5 separate regions of the Homo sapiens genome follow, and all the other regions are linked to region 1. Evidence: promoter capture Hi-C in 16 types of primary human blood cells and fetal thymus (Javierre and others, 2016). All regions are on one chromosome and are shown on one strand. Each heading gives the region's core, a stretch centred on a gene start or on the middle of the fragment in contact. The rest is flanking DNA. Distances are from core to core; before and after follow the strand shown.

Evidence for each region. Contacts are between HindIII fragments. The CHiCAGO score rates a contact against its expected background, and 5 or more counts as called.
Region 2: a fragment that was not itself captured here is called in contact with the fragment with the promoter of RIPK4 in region 1 in 1 of 17 cell types (fetal thymus); the score reaches 6.6 in fetal thymus.
Region 3: a contact is called between a fragment that was not itself captured here and the fragment with the promoter of RIPK4 in region 1, in 2 of 17 cell types (M0 macrophages and M1 macrophages). The highest score is 5.5, in M0 macrophages.
Region 4: a contact is called between a fragment that was not itself captured here and the fragment with the promoter of RIPK4 in region 1, in 3 of 17 cell types (endothelial precursors, M1 macrophages and M0 macrophages). The highest score is 7.0, in endothelial precursors.
Region 5: a fragment that was not itself captured here is called in contact with the fragment with the promoter of RIPK4 in region 1 in 4 of 17 cell types (M0 macrophages, endothelial precursors, monocytes and 1 more); the score reaches 8.9 in M0 macrophages.

What each region holds. Positions count from the first base shown.
Region 1 is chr21:41,765,329-41,768,647 of GRCh38, reverse strand. It overlaps RIPK4 (receptor interacting serine/threonine kinase 4), which reads left to right and starts at 1,596. Exons shown (of 8, transcript NM_020639.3): 1 at 1,596-1,788. The coding sequence starts at 1,607. It overlaps LOC102724800 (a long non-coding RNA gene), which reads right to left and starts at 1,481. Exons shown (of 5, transcript XR_937745.3): 1 at 1,414-1,481; 2 at 631-789; 3 at 1-34. The HindIII fragment of the contact is 2,131 bases long and covers 226-2,356 here.
Region 2 is chr21:42,006,181-42,009,499 of GRCh38, reverse strand. All of the region lies in intron 1 of ZBTB21 (zinc finger and BTB domain containing 21), which reads left to right. It overlaps ZNF295-AS1 (ZNF295 antisense RNA 1), which reads right to left and starts at 306. Exons shown (of 2, transcript NR_119384.1): 1 at 1-306. The HindIII fragment of the contact is 1,362 bases long and covers 570-1,931 here.
Region 3 is chr21:41,552,587-41,555,905 of GRCh38, reverse strand. LOC105372809 (a long non-coding RNA gene) reads left to right here. Exons shown (of 5, transcript XR_937738.1): 5 at 2,714-3,102. Among named protein-coding and RNA genes, the nearest start is that of PCSEAT, 26 kb to the left of the region's middle. The HindIII fragment of the contact is 6,051 bases long and covers 1-3,319 here.
Region 4 is chr21:41,575,345-41,578,663 of GRCh38, reverse strand. All of the region lies in intron 1 of LOC105372809 (a long non-coding RNA gene), which reads left to right. Among named protein-coding and RNA genes, the nearest start is that of PCSEAT, 3.5 kb to the left of the region's middle. The HindIII fragment of the contact is 1,691 bases long and covers 964-2,654 here.
Region 5 is chr21:41,597,652-41,600,970 of GRCh38, reverse strand. No RefSeq gene overlaps it. Among named protein-coding and RNA genes, the nearest start is that of PCSEAT, 19 kb to the right of the region's middle. The HindIII fragment of the contact is 5,238 bases long and covers 1-3,319 here.

The DNA of each region.
Region 1 (3,319 bases), core at 347-2,846:
AGTCACCCCCAGCTGCGGAGCTGTGTGCCGGAGACTGTAGATGGAGAAAGGTACTTTGCTAGAGCTGAGCCCCGGGAACAGGACAGGTGACTCACTTTCAAGTCCATTCATTTTTTTCCCACCAAAATAATAACTATGTTTACTTCCAAGGTATCTTCGTAGATTCAAAACTCCAATTATTTTTTAAAACATTAGTCCAAATGTAAGTTACATTTGTGACAAGCTTAAAACAACTATTTGCCACTCCAGCCTTAAGGAGACCAACTTTAATTTCCGGAGTATGTGGGAAAGGAAGTGGCTCCCTGGTCCCCCCAGGAGGCCCCCCGAGCAAGCATCGTCATGTTGGGATGTGTGAGTTCCCTCCAAAGAGCGGCCGGATGGGAGTGGGGAGGCAGTGGGGAGACGCGGCTCCCCGCTACAGGCTATGAAAGAAGGTCCGCGCCCGTTTGGAAGGGGGAGCCTGGAGACACTAGGTCTGCGGCTTTCAATGCGCTGACTTGGGGCAGCCTCTCTCTTTCCGAGTTACTAACACAAAAACACAGTTAATGTCGTTAAAATACCCTCTCCTTTAGCTCCGCCCTCCTGTCTTCATTATTAATCTCCTGTGGCCAAAAATAAGCCTTCACTCACCGTTGCGTCTCAGGAATGAGTGAGTGTTTTCTGAGGTGTGGACGCGTGCGTGATCTGTGATGCACTTCGGCCTCTAACCCAAATATCCTTCCAAGGCTGGGAATTTTTTTTCCCCATATGTGAAAAAAAAATCTTTCCTTTTCAAACCATCTGTTCTACCTGTAAAAAGAGGCTGTTATTTAGGAAAGGATGAGGGAACTCTTGCATTTGAAATGGACTTTAGATTTGCTGTTGGGTAATTTTTTAAAAAAAGTTACTTTCTGAGAGGAAACTCGTGTAAAAAAGCAAGACGTGAACCTGCAGGGAATTAGACTAACGAGTGAAGAAAGCCAATTTCAAAAAATTAGGCGCTGTATGATTCCTGTATCTAAACATAACATTTCTGAAATAAAACAATTTTAGAAATAGAGGAAAGATTAGTGATGCCAGGGCTCCGGGGTGCGGCTGTAAAATCGCCACAGGAGTGGCCAGGTGGGGGTGGATACGGGAAGGTACACAGATGATTACATTGTGTAAAACTAATACATGCAAAGGAAGACGAGTAAAACGGCAAAACTGAATAAGATCGGTGACTGTATCAAAGTCAATATCCTGGTTGTGAGATTGGACTTTTTTTTTTGGCAAAGTTTTGCAAAGTGGTAACACTGGGGGAAACTAGGCAAAGTGAATGATTTCTTACAACTGCATGTGACTCCGCAATTAAGGAAAAAAAAAAAGCAAAGAAAAGCAGGGCAGCTGATGCGCACGTCGAGACCCGTGAGAAGCGTGAGAAGCTCTGCTCACCCAGGGGAGAGCGCAGTGACCCGCAGCGTCTATTCATCCGTCCGCAGTCACCGGGCGCTGGCAGAGAGGGCGCCCGGGGGGCGGGTAAGTGGGCGGGGCCTGGGGGCGGGACGACCTACGGAAGTGACGTAACAGGGCGGAGCGCGCACCTGGGCACCTGGGCAGCCGCCGCGGCGCTGGCTAGACGTGCGCGATGGAGGGCGACGGCGGGACCCCATGGGCCCTGGCGCTGCTGCGCACCTTCGACGCGGGCGAGTTCACGGGCTGGGAGAAGGTGGGCTCGGGCGGCTTCGGGCAGGTGTACAAGGTGCGCCATGTCCACTGGAAGACCTGGCTGGCCATCAAGTGCTCGCCCAGCCTGCACGTCGACGACAGGTGAGCGGCCCGGGCGGGGCGCTGGGGCGGCTGGGGCCCGGGCTGGGGTCGGGGTCGGGGTGCTCTGGTCCCGGGGTCCTGCCTCTCTCTCCCGAACTCACCCCCGGAGCAGCTTCGGGGGGGAAACCAATTGCCGGCGAGGCCGCGGGGCTCCGACAATGTCCACTCGGCCTGTCCGGGCCGGAGGGGCGCGGGGGCTTTGGCGAGCCCGGGCTCGATCGCGCACGTCGGGGCCGGGTCAGGCGGCTCCTCTGGGGCTCCTCTGGGGCTCCTCGGGGGCCGCGTCTGCCCGGACGTCCTAAGGCGCCCAGTCGTGCTTCCTGACACTCCCCGAGTGGCCCTGGTTTTCGGGGTCTCCAGCTCGCCTTGCGCCTCGGACCCGCGCCCTTGGGAGGCGCGTCCGGCCCGCCCGGGACCCACCGGGGCGCTGCGGTCTGCGCAGGGCTTAGAAAAATTGCCATGTGGGCCTCTGGGCTTTGTGAGTGGAGTTAGCCTCCGTTCGACTTACTTAGTAATTTACGTTGGAACACAAATTGGTGTAAGACTGTAATTATTTCGGTCGGAAGCTTCGGCTTGGCTCGGGCGAGGCTTCCCGGGCGCCCGGCGCTTGCGCGGTGGAGCTCCGGGGCTCGGGCCTGGCAGTGGGGTCCGGCACGGGGCCCGGGGTGTTGATCCGTCCGCCCAGCGCTTCCTCGCCGCACACTCTCGTTTTAGCTGACTTAATTTCGAGACCGACCCGCTAGGGAAGGGCCTTGCATTCAAGTTCTGTGGCCGTGCCATGGGGCCCTCCTGCACCCCAGTTTCCCAGTCCAAAAGTCAGAATGGAACCTGCCTGTACCTACCTAGCAGGAGTGTTCAAGGTAACAAAGACGAATGGGAAGGACGCAGAGCCGCCCGTGTTAAATTCGGTGGGTCGGTTGTCGTCTGTGCATAATTTGAGAGGTAGGGAGAATGTTCTTGAACAGTACCTCTTTGTTGTTGTAGATTTCACTGTTTACAGTTGATTTTGATGGTTCATATGTAAGGCTCAATTTAGCACGTTTTAATTATTTATCCTTTAATGAAGCTTACCTTCTACATGGAAGCTATGCTTGTATTTTACCTAGAGATTCCTTGAACACATACACTCAGAAGCGACACCTTTTTAAAATACCATTTAGCCTTTGCTGCCTGGCAGACCTGGTTTCGAATGCTCGGCTGATTGAGTGATGGGGCCGCTAAGCCCCAGCTTTTCTGCAGAATCGTTGTGATGCCTGTGTCTGGGGTGGCAGTGCGTGCTGCAGCCCCATACCGTGACTGTGACGCCTCTGTGGATGAGAGGCCTGTCCTCTCCCTTTGCATTTTCGTCCTTGGCTAGGAGACTACACAGCAGAGATAGTGGTGGCTTTTTGCCGTAACCCTCAAATCCAGTGTTTCTTGGAAACACCAGTAGAGTGGTGACGAGTGTCATCAAATCACCACTAGTTCAAAGGTGAGATGCTGGCCCAGGCTGTGCACTTTTTCTCCCCTGCCTCAGATTCTGGGAACTTCT
Region 2 (3,319 bases), core at 1-2,500, 240 kb before region 1:
CCGCTTGGAGGAGCCCCCTTCCCCCCGTCCGAGGTCCGCGGCTGGAGGGGCAGGGAGTCAAGACGCCACCCGTGCCGGCCTTAGAGACGCCCGCGGCAGCCCCGCCACATCTCTTCCCGGCTTTTCGGGAACACGCCCCGTAGTCCATCCTCAGCGGCTCCTGCTTTTCCATCCCAGCACACCGCTGGGGGCTCGCACTCTGCCCCCGGTTGCTATGCGGTCCCAGCCACGAGGGCTCTGCGGTTCGGGAGAATTCCGCAAGAGCGCGCGTTCGGAGGCGGGGTGTTTTTAGACAGGTGCCCCGGTGGGATTGCCTGACCGAGAGGACGGGGAAAGTTAGACTTCACACGGCCTGGGGTTTTTCCTTTCGTGCAAGCGCTCACAGCCCTGGCACCGAGCCTCCGAGGGCACGCGTGTGTTACAAAATAGTCCAGCGATTGTTCACACGATGACCCTGAGTCCTCAATTAAGCAGCTTACATTACGGTCCTCATACCTTGTTTAAGAAGACAAGAAAGTGGGTTAATCCATTTTAGAAAGATTTCTCATGGAAAATTATCTTTTAAAGCTTTCCTCGTGTACTTGGAGTAAATGATGATCTCTAAGGACTAGTAGTCATTAAGTTTAAATTTAAGCACCCCTAAATATTGATGTTAAAAAGAAAGTCAAAATTTGAAGTGCTGGTTTACTTAAAAGTAACTTTTTGTTTATTTTTCCTTTTTAACACTTTATTGAAAGTATAATGTGCTTCATTCTGTTGAAATAGAAGTTGAAGAAGATATAACCCCTGCCCTCGAGGAACTTACACTGTTGAATATTAGATGTGTACACTCTGAAGGAAAAATTGTAAATAACAAAATTGGGGTTAAGTTAAGAAGGTCTCTCGATGGAAATGAGATAATTAAAGGGACAATTTTTTCTTTTCTTTTCTTTTTTTCTTTTTTTTTTTTTTTTTTTTTTGACAGAGTTTCACTCTTGTTGCCCCAGGCTGGAGTACAATGGCGTGATCTTGGCTCACTGCAACCTCCGCCTCCCTGGTTTTGCAACCTCCGCCTCCCTGGTTCAAGCGATTCTCCTGCCTCAGCCTCCTGAGTAGCCGGGATTACAGGCTTCCGCCACATCGCCCAGCTAATTTTTTTTTTTTTTTTTTTTTTTTTTGTAGAGACGGGGTTTCATCCTGTTGACCAGGATGGCCTTGAGATCTCCTGACCTCGTGATCCACCCCACTTGGTCTCCCAAAGTGCTGGGATTACAGGCATGAGCCACTGCGCCCAGCCGAAGGGACAGTTTTAGTTGTCCGCAAAGCCAATGGAAGTAGAGAGAGCAGATTATAAGCTATGTAAGAGCTAGGTTTGACCAGGTCACAGTGATAGGCTATAAGGGAAAGAGAAGAAATTTTAGGGTCTGGCAACACACCAAAGTAAATCGGGAATATGTGAGGACAAACAGATGTGGGAGCAGGGACGAGAGTTGTGGAGTTTAAGTACCATGCTGGACCTGAGGATATACTGTGATGGAACCGTTCAGTAGGTACCTGAGAGGCTGGAGCCTCAAGAGTCTAAACAGAGATACAGATTTGGGAATCATCGTCCAGTAGTGATTAAAGTCACAAGGTCTAATAGAAAAAGCAAAGAATACTGCCACGTTTTGGGGCTCTGTAACGGATGCTGGAGAAATAAAGGTGAGCCAGTCCAGGTCTTGAGCCTCAAGTTTGATGATTTCTCTCTTTGCCCTGTACCTAGCTTGCCAGGCCTTGTGCTGGGCATCAGGGATACGTGCATGCAAACAAGGGTTCTTTCTTTAGGGAGTCCCTTGGGGGAGACACATGTAAAAGAAGATTAATTGAAGAAGTTGTGGTGTTATTACAGAGAGATGAAGTATTGTGGTAGTTTAGATGACTGAGCTGCTGGCTAGGGGCAAATTACAAAAGCTTTGTAGAGTCGGTGACATTTCAACTGGATCTTTCGAAAGAAGTTAGCCAAGTAAAGGAGAGGGAAGAGAGAGATTTTGGGTGGCAGAGGCTGGATATGCAAGTTTGTAGAGTAGATGGTAAGTAGTGTCCAATAAGGGTGGAGAGATGAATTGTAACCAGAGTATGAAAAGTCTTGTATGCCAGTCTGTAGTTTGGATTTTCTTTAGGAATAGAAAAATCAGTACAGTACTCCAAAGCAGGGCAGTGATGTAATACGCTTTACTTCAGCAAAACAACTAACAGCCATAATTTTCACTCGTGCATTTAATTGGAGTGAAGAGTACAGAAAAGTCAAATCTTTATTGTTGTGGAAGATAACATGTTGAGCATTGATAATGCCAAAAGATATTAAATAGATTATCAGTCTTTAAATAGCTTTCAGTCCTCTTGGGGAGACACAAATGACTAACAATAAAGGCAGTGAATAAACATGTAAATGGTGCTGAAGTTGAGGTATTTGCACGTTATAAGATGAAGTAGTCAAGGAAGGTATATTCATTTGCTTGGGCTGCTATAACAAAGTACTGCAGACTGGATGACTCAACAGATTTCTTTTCCCACAGTTCTGAAAGCTAGAAGTCCAAGAACAAGGTGTCAGCAGGGTTGGCTTCTTCTGAGGCTTCTCTTTGGCTTATAGATGGCATCTTCTTGTCCCTACTTGGTCCTTCCTCTGTTCATGTCTCTGTGCTAATCTTCCTCTCCTGTAAGAACACCAGTTACATCAGTTTAGGGGTCACCCTAAAGCCCTCATTTTAACTTAATTACCTCTTAGAGACCATGTCTCCAAGTATGACTACATTCTCCAGGTACTGGAGGCTAAGTCTTTATCATATAAATTTGGGAGGGAAGAGTGGGGACACAATTCAACCCATAATGGAAGATTTTATGGAGTAGCTGGAACTTGACCTGAGCTTTGAAAGGTGATTAATATTCTGAGTAGTGTGCTGAGGAGGGGTTTAGGTGAGTTCTAGGACTTTCCAGATTGGGGAGTGGGAGAAGTCAGATGTGCAGGTTAGGTCTTAGAGACAGAGTATCTGGAGCAGAAAGGGATCACTAGGGAATAACTAAGGGAAAGAAAAAAAAATTTTTTTTTTTTTTTTGAGACGGAGTTTCGCTCTGGCTCAGCTGTCACCCAGTGGTGACTGGAGTGTAGTGGCACGATCTCAGCTCACTGCATCCTTCACCTCCCAGGTTCAAGCGATTCTCCTGCCTCAGCCTCTCGAGTAGCTGGGATTACAGGCGCCCGTCACCACACCCGGCTAATTTTCGTATTTTTAGTAGAGACAGGGTATTACCATGTTGGCCAGGCTGGTCTCGAACTCCTGACCTCAGGTGATCCACCCGCCTT
Region 3 (3,319 bases), core at 467-2,966, 210 kb after region 1:
AGTGTCCTCACTCTTGCTGGGTGAATCTTGAACTGGAGAATGGAATTGCTGAAAAGAAAACAAAGGATGACAGGGGTGCCTGTGTGAAAGTGTGTGTCTATGTGTACATGTATGTACTTGTGCCTTCCTGCATATGTATACATGTAACTTGAGTGGGTGAGCTTGTGTGCATGAGAGTGCACAGTTGCACACACCCCACTGCATACCTCTCCTGAGTGCCTAGAAATCAAAACTAGATAGAATTTAGAGATCAACTAATTCAGAATCTTCCTTGATCACAGTGAACTAAATTAGAGCAAAAGACCTAGAGGTCTGCCAGTATCTACCCATGTTCATGCTGCATCAGAAAAAGAATTTTGTGATAACAACAAAATGGAGACAAGGAAATATTCAACTTGCCCTAGAAATGTTTATGAATGACTTATTTATGCTTCAATTAGAAGAGAATATCGACTTATATATATTACTTGAATTATGAACAACACTCTATACAGTTACAAATAATATGATAGTTTTAATATACTTACTGTGAGAAAATTTTGCCTATATTTTCATGTGTGCAGATTTACAGGCAGCAGATTGTTAATGCCTGAATAAGGCCTGTAGGGATTAGGCTGCATCCACTATGTTTATCTGGCAGAGAAAGTTCAGGTAGCACATGTGACCTCCAATGGTACAAGGCTCCAGGCTTAGTTACAGGAAAATCCTAGACAGTTCTATTAACATATTACTCCTGAGTTAACCAAACAACACAAATTGATTAACAATTTGTTAACTCAAGAGTAAAATCAAATTGATAATACTAAGACTGATATTAAGAGTAATTTATAAGCAGAAAGCATGAAGCAGCAATGGAAAACCACAGCCAACTCAAAACAACACTAATGATACCACAAATTGAAAATCTTCAGCAATCACAATCACTGAATATGTTCCTAAATATTCTTCCCCCTCAAAAAATAACCTTCTAAGAGATTAGTAGGTTGCTTTCCACTTAAATTCTCATGAAGTCTTTTATAAGGCATTCTTATACTTGCTTTTTAAACTCATGTTTTTATTGTGAAACATAACATCAATAGCTTTTCTACAAAAGGCCAGTTTCTTTTTCCAGGAGGCACAGTAGCCTGGATTGACCTCAATCTGTGCTTGCTGGGGACGTCCAGAGTAGCCAAGGGGGTGAATCACTAACAGTAGATAAAGAAGAAAAGATATTTAACACTGATTGAATTATTCCAGGAGGTATGACCTCATATTCAGAGGTGTAGGGTGTTAAAAATAAGCCTTGTTGGAGGTTGCAGTGAGCCGAGATCACGCCACTGCACTCCAGCCTGGGTGACAGAGTGAGACTCCATATATATAAAAAAAAAAAAGCCATGTAAAGACCACATTAAGAGCAATAGGTTGTCTATGTTGTGTAAATTCTCTTACAGGCCGGGCGCGGTGGCTCACGCCTGTAATCCCAGCACTTTGGGAGGCCGAGGCGGGTGGATCATGAGGTCAGGAGATCGAGACCATCCTGGCTAACAAGGTGAAACCCCGTCTCTACTAAAAATACAAAAAATTAGCCGGGCGCGGTGGCGGGCGCCTGTAGTCCCAGCTACTCGGAAGGCTGAGGCAGGAGAATGGCGTGAACCCGGGAAGCGGAGCTTGCAGTGAGCCGAGATTGCGCCACTGCAGTCCGCAGTCCGGCCTGGGCGACAGAGCGAGACTCCGTCTCAAAAAAAGAAAAAAAAAAAAAAAAAAAAAAAAAAATTCTCTTACAAAAGGAATGAAAAAGAAACAATGTTCTAATGTTGTATAAATAGTACTTATAGCTAGGGATAAAGTTTCCAGCAACAGTATCTTGAAGTCAGCAGAGCTCAAAGAAATTAGGGGAAACTGAAGACCTTATAATGTTCTCTTGGAAAAGATTAGCTCAAAAGGCACGTCTGTGACAAGAAGACTGCATGTCATAGAGGCAAGGAGAGTTAGAATGAAATGGCTTCATCAAATGAGAGCTTGGGGAAAAAAACAATGTGGCAAATTGGAATTTATATACACACAACCTCTGACCTTTCTAATGTGTGTCATGAAATTAACACATTTTATATTTTAAGTAAAGATCGGACTAATCCACATTGTTAAATTGTCTATGGATTTTCTCATAGGACGGTGTCTTTAATGGCCAGTGTGGCCTAGTTCCCGGGATATGAGGCAGCTTCATGAACAAGGGAGAAGCGGGAAGCGCTCGGGGCACCGTCGGGGCCACTTTGGAATTTTTTGTAAAGTAGCAGGCTGCTCATTTTAGCTAGGGAATACATAGCATTAGTAGTGATCTTTTTTTTTTTTTTCTTTAAGACAGAGTTTCCTTCTGTCGCCAGGCTGGATTTGCAGTGGCATGATCTCTGCTCACTGCAAGCTCCGCCTCCTGGGTTCACGCCATTCTCCTGCCTCAGCCTCCCAAGTAGCTGGGACTATGGGCGCGAGACACCACACCCAGCTAATTTTTTTTTTTTGTATTTTTAGTAGAGACGGGGTTTCACCATGTTGGGCAGGGTGGTCTCGATCGCTTGACCTCGTGATCTGCCCGCCTCGGCCTCCCAAAGTGCTGGGATTACAGGCGTGAGCCACCGCACCCGGCCTGTAATCTTTAATAATTTATTTCATAGGCTATAGGCAAATAGCTCATTGCTTTACACAAACTAAAATCAACATGGCTCTGCCTCTTTTCCAGGTGAAAACCCAAAGCAGGCTGGTTCTTCTTGCCGGCTTCCTCCCAGACCCGTGCCTGGCCGGGGAGGGGCCACACTTGGAGAATTCCTGCTATAGATGGGTCAACATCCGGGAGTGGTGTTTCTCTCAGGACAGAATGAGCTAAAGGAGAGAAACTCTACCTGAGAAAAACAGGAAAAGAGGAAACTTGAGACAACTCAGAGCTTGGGTTCCTTTAGTAGCAGTACTCTTTTGTTTCTCAGGTCGATCAGCTACAGTGTGGCAAATACAAAGCAAAAAAAAAAAATTCACTTCTGTGAATTGTGCTGTGATGAACACACCATGCATGCGTCTTTACAGTAGAACAATGAATATTCCTTTGGGTATATGCCCAATAATAGGATTGCTGGGTCGAACGGTAATTCTGCTTTAAGTTCTTTGAGAAATTGCCAAACTGCTTTCCACAATGGCTGAACTAATTTACGTTCCCTTTTCTCTACAACCTTGCCAGCATCTGTTATTTTTTTTTGACTTTTTAATAATAGCCATTCTGACTAGTGTGAGATGGTATCTCACTGTGGTTTTGATTTGCATTTATCTAATAATTAGTGATGTTGAACATTTTCAT
Region 4 (3,319 bases), core at 560-3,059, 190 kb after region 1:
ATAATCTCTGGAGAAAGCAACATCCTATCAAGTCTCAAATTGTTTCTAAGCAATCTCTTAAATACTTGTTTGGCATTTTATCAAAGATTGCCAGAAGCACAGGAGACGTGACAACCTAACTTAGAACTAGCAGAAAGATCTGGCACACAAGCACCCTAAATAAAATAATTATCAGACACAGTCTCCAAAATAATTGTGTTTATGGTGTTCAAGGATATGAAAAACAAGATTTAAAATATTAATAGAATACCAAACATATTCATCTGTGGAAGTTAGAGCAGCTTTGGGGGAAAAAAAGAAATTCTAGAACTGAAAAATACAATAACAAATTAAAAATGCAAGGAGCATGTTTTACAACAGAATGGAAACAGCTGAAGAGAGAATTATTAAACTGGAAGATAGACCACAAGAAAATAGCCAGATTTAAGCAAGCAGAGACTAAAGATGAGAAAGACAAGAGAGAATATTAGACTTGAAATACATGGCGAAAGGACCAGAGTTTCAGGATGAGAGAAGAAAGAAAATGGACAGAAGCAATATTTGAGGAGATAGCAGCTGAGAAAATAATTTATTTCTTCTCTTTATTTTATGGGGAGTTTAGAGTTTTTTCTGAGCTTAATTCTTAGGAAGATGAAGCACTTTTAAAGTGCTCATTAATCACTATCAAATAAGTAGAGAGTAAAAGCCTCTGTTTTTAATTAAAGATAACTTAAAGTAGTTCTAAACAGAGTTATTTTAAAATAGACTAATCAATTAATATTGGAAACAGGGTTATCTTAGCCAATATTCTATTAATATCTATTTTGGTACTTTGGGAAAATAGTGGAATGATTTCTTAACCACTTGAAAATAGTCAAACTACGATTGTTCCCTGAGAGTTAAACCTTACAATACAGAAGTAGCTGATCAGGGCAAAGATGTGCAAACCTTTCTTAATGACACAGAGTAGTGCCCAGGAAAGCTTAACTTGACAACGACCTGAATGATGTCATGTCTTAATCAATTAGGTGTGTAAATGAAGGGCCAATTTTATCAGCCAAGTAAGCAGAGTAAAAGGAGGGTCACAGAGACAAAGATTGGCTGGGCCTATAGAAACTTAGTCTAGGGGCAAGGACGATAAATATTCCCATACCCTAAACAAGACTCTTCCATCAAAAGATTCCATATATCCCATTTATCCAGCTGACTCCCTTGTTGTGAGCCCAGATCTACCATTGCAATTCTCTGATTATAGTTTGGATTCCTAGGCTCTCTATGAAGAAAAATGGTCTCTGGTGATTGTGTACTTCACTATAAATTGTAAGTTAGTGTTACGGTTTATACATCAGTCTCTGTTACATTGATTAATGTGAGTCTACTACTACAGATGCATTCATTGAAAAGCCAGGGATCTGAATCCATAGGACAGGGAGCCAAAATATAGAACAGGTTATATTTGTCAAGGTAATGCCATTCTATGGTTCTCTTAGATTTGTTTTTCATTCTTGAAGTTAAAGTCCTGGCACTGTCATTGTCTATTTTTTTTTAAAGTTAAAGCAATATAATCATATATTTAAGAACTGTATCTACTATTAAAAGATATCATAAAACAGCTTATCCTTCTCTCACTCCCACCCAATTCCTCAAAGATAATTAATCACTCCTCATTTCTTGTAGAATTTACCATCATAACTTTGAAGTCCTGCATACACTCTATTTATTTTTTATTGAATATGTTGATGAAAAAAATTAGAAACATGATGAGTCTCTACTGTCTTGGAAGTTTTCCTGTCTTTATTTATGATTGATTATTAAAATAGTTCAACTATTGGATTAACATTTTTCATATGTGCTTTCTTATTTTTGATTGCTTTTCTTTTACATCATGCTGTTTTGGTTTTAAGAATGTACAAATTCATAATAATTTTTTGACAATTTCCTCTATTCCCAGAATAATTTCTTTGTCCTTTACATGTTAAAATTCTATTTATTTGTTTTGGTTTCGCTGGTATATTATAGCCTTTCCCAGCTTTATATTTGTGGTGGACAGACTCTTCAAATGGCCTCAGTAAGCCGCCCCCATCCTGGAGTTCATGACCTTGTTCAATTCCTTCCCCATGAGTGTGGGAAGGATCTGTGACATGCATCTAACCAACTGACTACCGCAAAGGTGGCCAGATGTCCATGATTACAATAATGTAAAATTTAACATCAGTTTTGTTGGACTCTCTCTCTCTCTGCTTTGCTGGTTTTGAGAAGGCACGTGGTCATGTTGGATAACCCACGTGGCAGGAACTAAGGGCACCTCTAGGAGCTGAGGTGGTCTCTGAACAACAGGAAATTGAAGCCTTCAGTCCAACAACTGCAAAGAACTGAATCTTGCCCATAAGATGAGTGAGCTTGGAAGTGGATCTTTTCTCTGGTTAAAGCTCAATGCAAACTTAGCCAGCCAGACACCTGGATTAGAGCTTGGCTGAGACCCAAGCAGAGGACTCAGTGAAACATGCCTGTGCTCTATTTATTATGTAAGCATTAAAAAGCTGATAAGAACCTGTGTTTCTTTTTTTTTTAACTTTAATTTTAGGTTCAGAGGTACATGTGCAGGTTTTTTATATAGGTAACTCATGGCACAGGGTTTATTGTACAGATTATTTAGTCACCCAGGTACAAAAGCTTAGTACTCAATAGCTATTCTTTCTAATCTAACCTTCTCCCACCCTCCACCCTCAGGTAGGTCCCAATGTCTGTTATTCCCCTGTATGTGTCCCCATGTTTTCATCATTTAACTCCCACTTATAAGTGAGAATGGGAAGCATTTGGCTTTCTGTTCCTGCATTAATTGGTTAAGGATAATGGCCTCCATCCATGTTCCTGCAAAGGATACAATCTTGCTCTTTTTTTATGGCTGCATAGTATTGCCTGGTGCATATGTACCACAGTTTCTTTATCCACTCTATCATTGATGGACATTTAGGTTGATTCCATGTCTTTGCTATTGTGAATAGTGTTGCAATGGATATACATGTGCATGTATGTTTATGGTAGAATGATTTATATTCTTTTGAGTATATACCCAGTAATGGGATTGCTGGGTCAAATGGACAGAAACTTTGTTACTAAAATTTAAAAAGAGTAGCCACACAAAATGTTGGCAAGGATGTGGAGCCACTGCAGCTCTCAGGCATTGCTTATGGTACAGCCACTCTGGAAGACAGTTTCACAGTTCCTTAAAAAGTCAAACATTATGACAAAATGAGATATTATTACAAAAGTATTCAAGTACCCAAAATTTGAAACGCCAACACCAGCAAACACTGGTGAGGACTCTCATCAATTGCTG
Region 5 (3,319 bases), core at 321-2,820, 170 kb after region 1:
CCCGAGTAGCTGGGATTCGGCTGGGACCTCAGCCTCCCGAGTAGCTGGGACTACAGGTGTGCACCACCACGCCTGGCTAATTTTTGTATTTTTTTGTAGAGATGGCGATTCGCCATGTTGCACCAGACCCAAGCAATCTCCCCGCCCTGGCCTCCCAAAGTGCTTGGATGACAGACATGAGCCACAGTGTCCGGCTTCGGCTGAATCTTCTTCAGGGCCTCTCTCCAGGTTGAAGCCAGGGAGTGGGTGGTGGCCTCAGTCTTCTGAAGTTTTAAGCAAGCAGGGGCCCTCTGCAGGCTCCTTAGTGGTTGCTGGCAGGATCCAGTTCTATGAGCCTGAGGGTCTCAGTTCCTTGCTGGCTGTTAGCCAGAGACTGTCTGTGTAGTTCCTCGACATGTGGATCTAACACAGCTTGTTGCTTTACCAAAGTGAGCAAGCTGAGAAGGCCATACAGAGAGAGTCCCGCAAGAAGGAAGTCAGAGGTTTTTGACACCTAGAGCAGAGATGTTCCATTACTCTTGATGCATTCTGTCCATCAGAAGCAAGTCACCAGGTCCAGCCCCACTCATGAAGAAGGAGTCACACAAGGAAGCAAATTTCGAGAGGCGATCACCGAGGGTCATCCCAGAGGCTACCCAGCCAGCCCTGAGTATTCAGGGTGGAGTTAGCTGGACACAGCGGTGATGACTGATGCCCACTGTGCACTGCTTGTTTGCCAGCCCTGTGCTCAAGGCCTTCTGTGAATTACATCTGACTCCAGGACGTGCATCCTGTTGGTCTTCCTGCTCACATCTAGTAGCACAGAGAAGGTAAAGGGACTGACGAGGGCAGAGCCTGGTGCTAACCCCCCATCCTCTTGATGCCATAGGCTCAATCTGATCACTAGCCATGATCTTGGCCTTTCTCAAAGTGCAGGGGTTTGCTCTAAGTGGGCTTCCTGAAGAAGGTGGTATTGGGTGCAATTATGAAGGAAGGAGACGCTGGTGACATAACAACCTGGATGAAGGATGTTCTCACTGCGGAAATGGCAGGTGCCAAGATGTGGTTCCCTGATGCTGGGCTGTGGAGGTGGCGATATGGCCTGAGGCTAACTCCATTTGCACATTCTGGACACTGCTACCCTCTGGAGATATGCTGCTACTCTTGGTATTTGTATTTGTCAGTTTTCTCGCTGCTGATAAAGACATACCCCAGACTGGGCAATTTATAAAAGAAAGAGGTTTATTGGACTTACAGTCCACATGTCTGGGGAGTCCTCACAATCATGGTGGAAGGCAAGGAGGAGCAAGTCACATCTTATGTAGATGGCAGCAGGCAAAGAGAGTGCTTGTGCAGAGAAACTCCCATTTTTAAACCCATCAGATCTCATGAGACCCATTCACTATCATAAGAACCGCACAGGAAAGACCCGCCCCCATGATTCAATCATCTTTCACCGGGCCCCTCCCACAACATGTGGGAATTTTGGGAGCTACAAGGTGAGATTTGGGTGGGGACACAGAGCCAAACCATGTCAGTATTCTTGATAACAACCCCATTGCCACCCAGCCAACGTTGACTCTTGGCCTGGGTTTACAGGTGACAAAATGCCAAACAATGACCAAGCCACCTCTCGAGGCACTCTCATGACCATGTGCCCTGTCTGGGCTCCTCCCTGCACACAGGCATCACAAACCACAAGCGCAAGACAAACACATTGCACAATGCCAGGAGGAAGTGCACCGGTGTTAGCATTGGCGACCACCCGAGCGTCTCAGATAAATCAGTCCTTTCCCCATCTGGGGATCTGTTCTTCTGTTAGTTACAAGTACAAGGGTCTGCCTGCCTCACACGGATGCAGATGTTTTAGAAGTCAGTTTTCTCTGTGTTTCTTGCTCTGGTTCAACAAGTAAGAGCCGAGAGACAGAATTTGGAGCCAGAAAGCCAAGAGGTTGACATGGCAGCGGCGGTTCTGTCGGTGGGGCTCTCCCCCAGGCTGTGCACTCGGAGAGCCTCATGTGCAGGTCTAAGCTCTGCTGGCTCGCAGCCACCAGATGGGAGAGGGTGTAGGAGTTCCCTACAGCAGCGGTGACAAAGGACCACAAAACGGGTGGTTTAAAACAGTAGAAACGGATTCCCTCACAGTTCTAGAGGCCAGACGTCCACAGTCAGTTTCACTGGGCTGAAACCAGGGTGTGGGCAGGGCCGGTCCCTCTGGATGCTCTGGGGAAGGTCCTTCCCTACACCTCCCAGCTTGTGGTGGCTACCAGTGTTCTCCAGGGCTTGTGGCTGCACTGCCCTCATCTCTGCCTCCATGGCCACGCTGTCTCCTCTTCTGCAGTGAAGTCTTCCTCTGCCTTCCTCTCACATGGTCTCTTGCAATGCCATTTAGGGCCCACCTGGCTAATCCGGGATAATTTCCCCACCTTAAAATCTTTAACTCAATCACATCTGCAAAGTCTTTTTTTTTTTTGCCATGTCACATCACATTCACAGTTCCAGGTATCCAGATGTGACTATCTTTTGGCAGCCATTATTCAGCCTCTGACAGACAGTAACTGCAGGACAAGGAGATGCCCTTGGCCATCTGTTAGGCTCTGGGGAACCTCTGACCTCTGTCTCTGCACTGTAGGTGCCCACTGACACCCATGGAGGGCAAGTCTAGACTGGCGAAGGTAAGAAAACATGTTGGGGTTGGAGATGACCTTGGTACCCAGAGGGCACCCCTGGTGAGGGTCATCTCTTCATCTTCTCCTTCCTCCTGTCATACCCCAGGGCTGCATGGGACACCAAGACAACGACCACGCCCACCTCCAACCCAGAAAGCACAAACTCCAGGAACGTCCCAGGCTGTCATCCTGGGGCAGAACCAGCATTGTGTGTCATGTTCCTGCGGCCTAGGCATGGCAACAGTGGGTCTCCACCCTGACCCTGAGTCGAGGGGTGAGTTTGAATCCTATCCCAGAGTGCATCACGGTCTAGGATCCTGTCCTTGTGGGTTCCTAGTGGGACATGAAGGCGGGGCAGCTGGGGCCTGGGAAGGAGGTGCCTTAGTACACAGGACTTGGCCCAGCAGGCCAAGCTAAGACACATGCACACACACAAATGTCCACACACACGCACATGTTACCCAGCAGGCCAGGCTAACACACACGTACACAGGCACACACATGTGTCCACACACACGCACATCCACAGGGTGTCCTGCAGGCTAGGCCAGTTGCCCACTCCCTGTTGTTCCCACTCCCTGATGTTGCCCACTCCCAGGTTAATTGGGGAGTAGCCACTCCCAGGCTAGTTGCCCACTCCCTGATGTTGCCCACTCCCAGGCCAGTTGCCC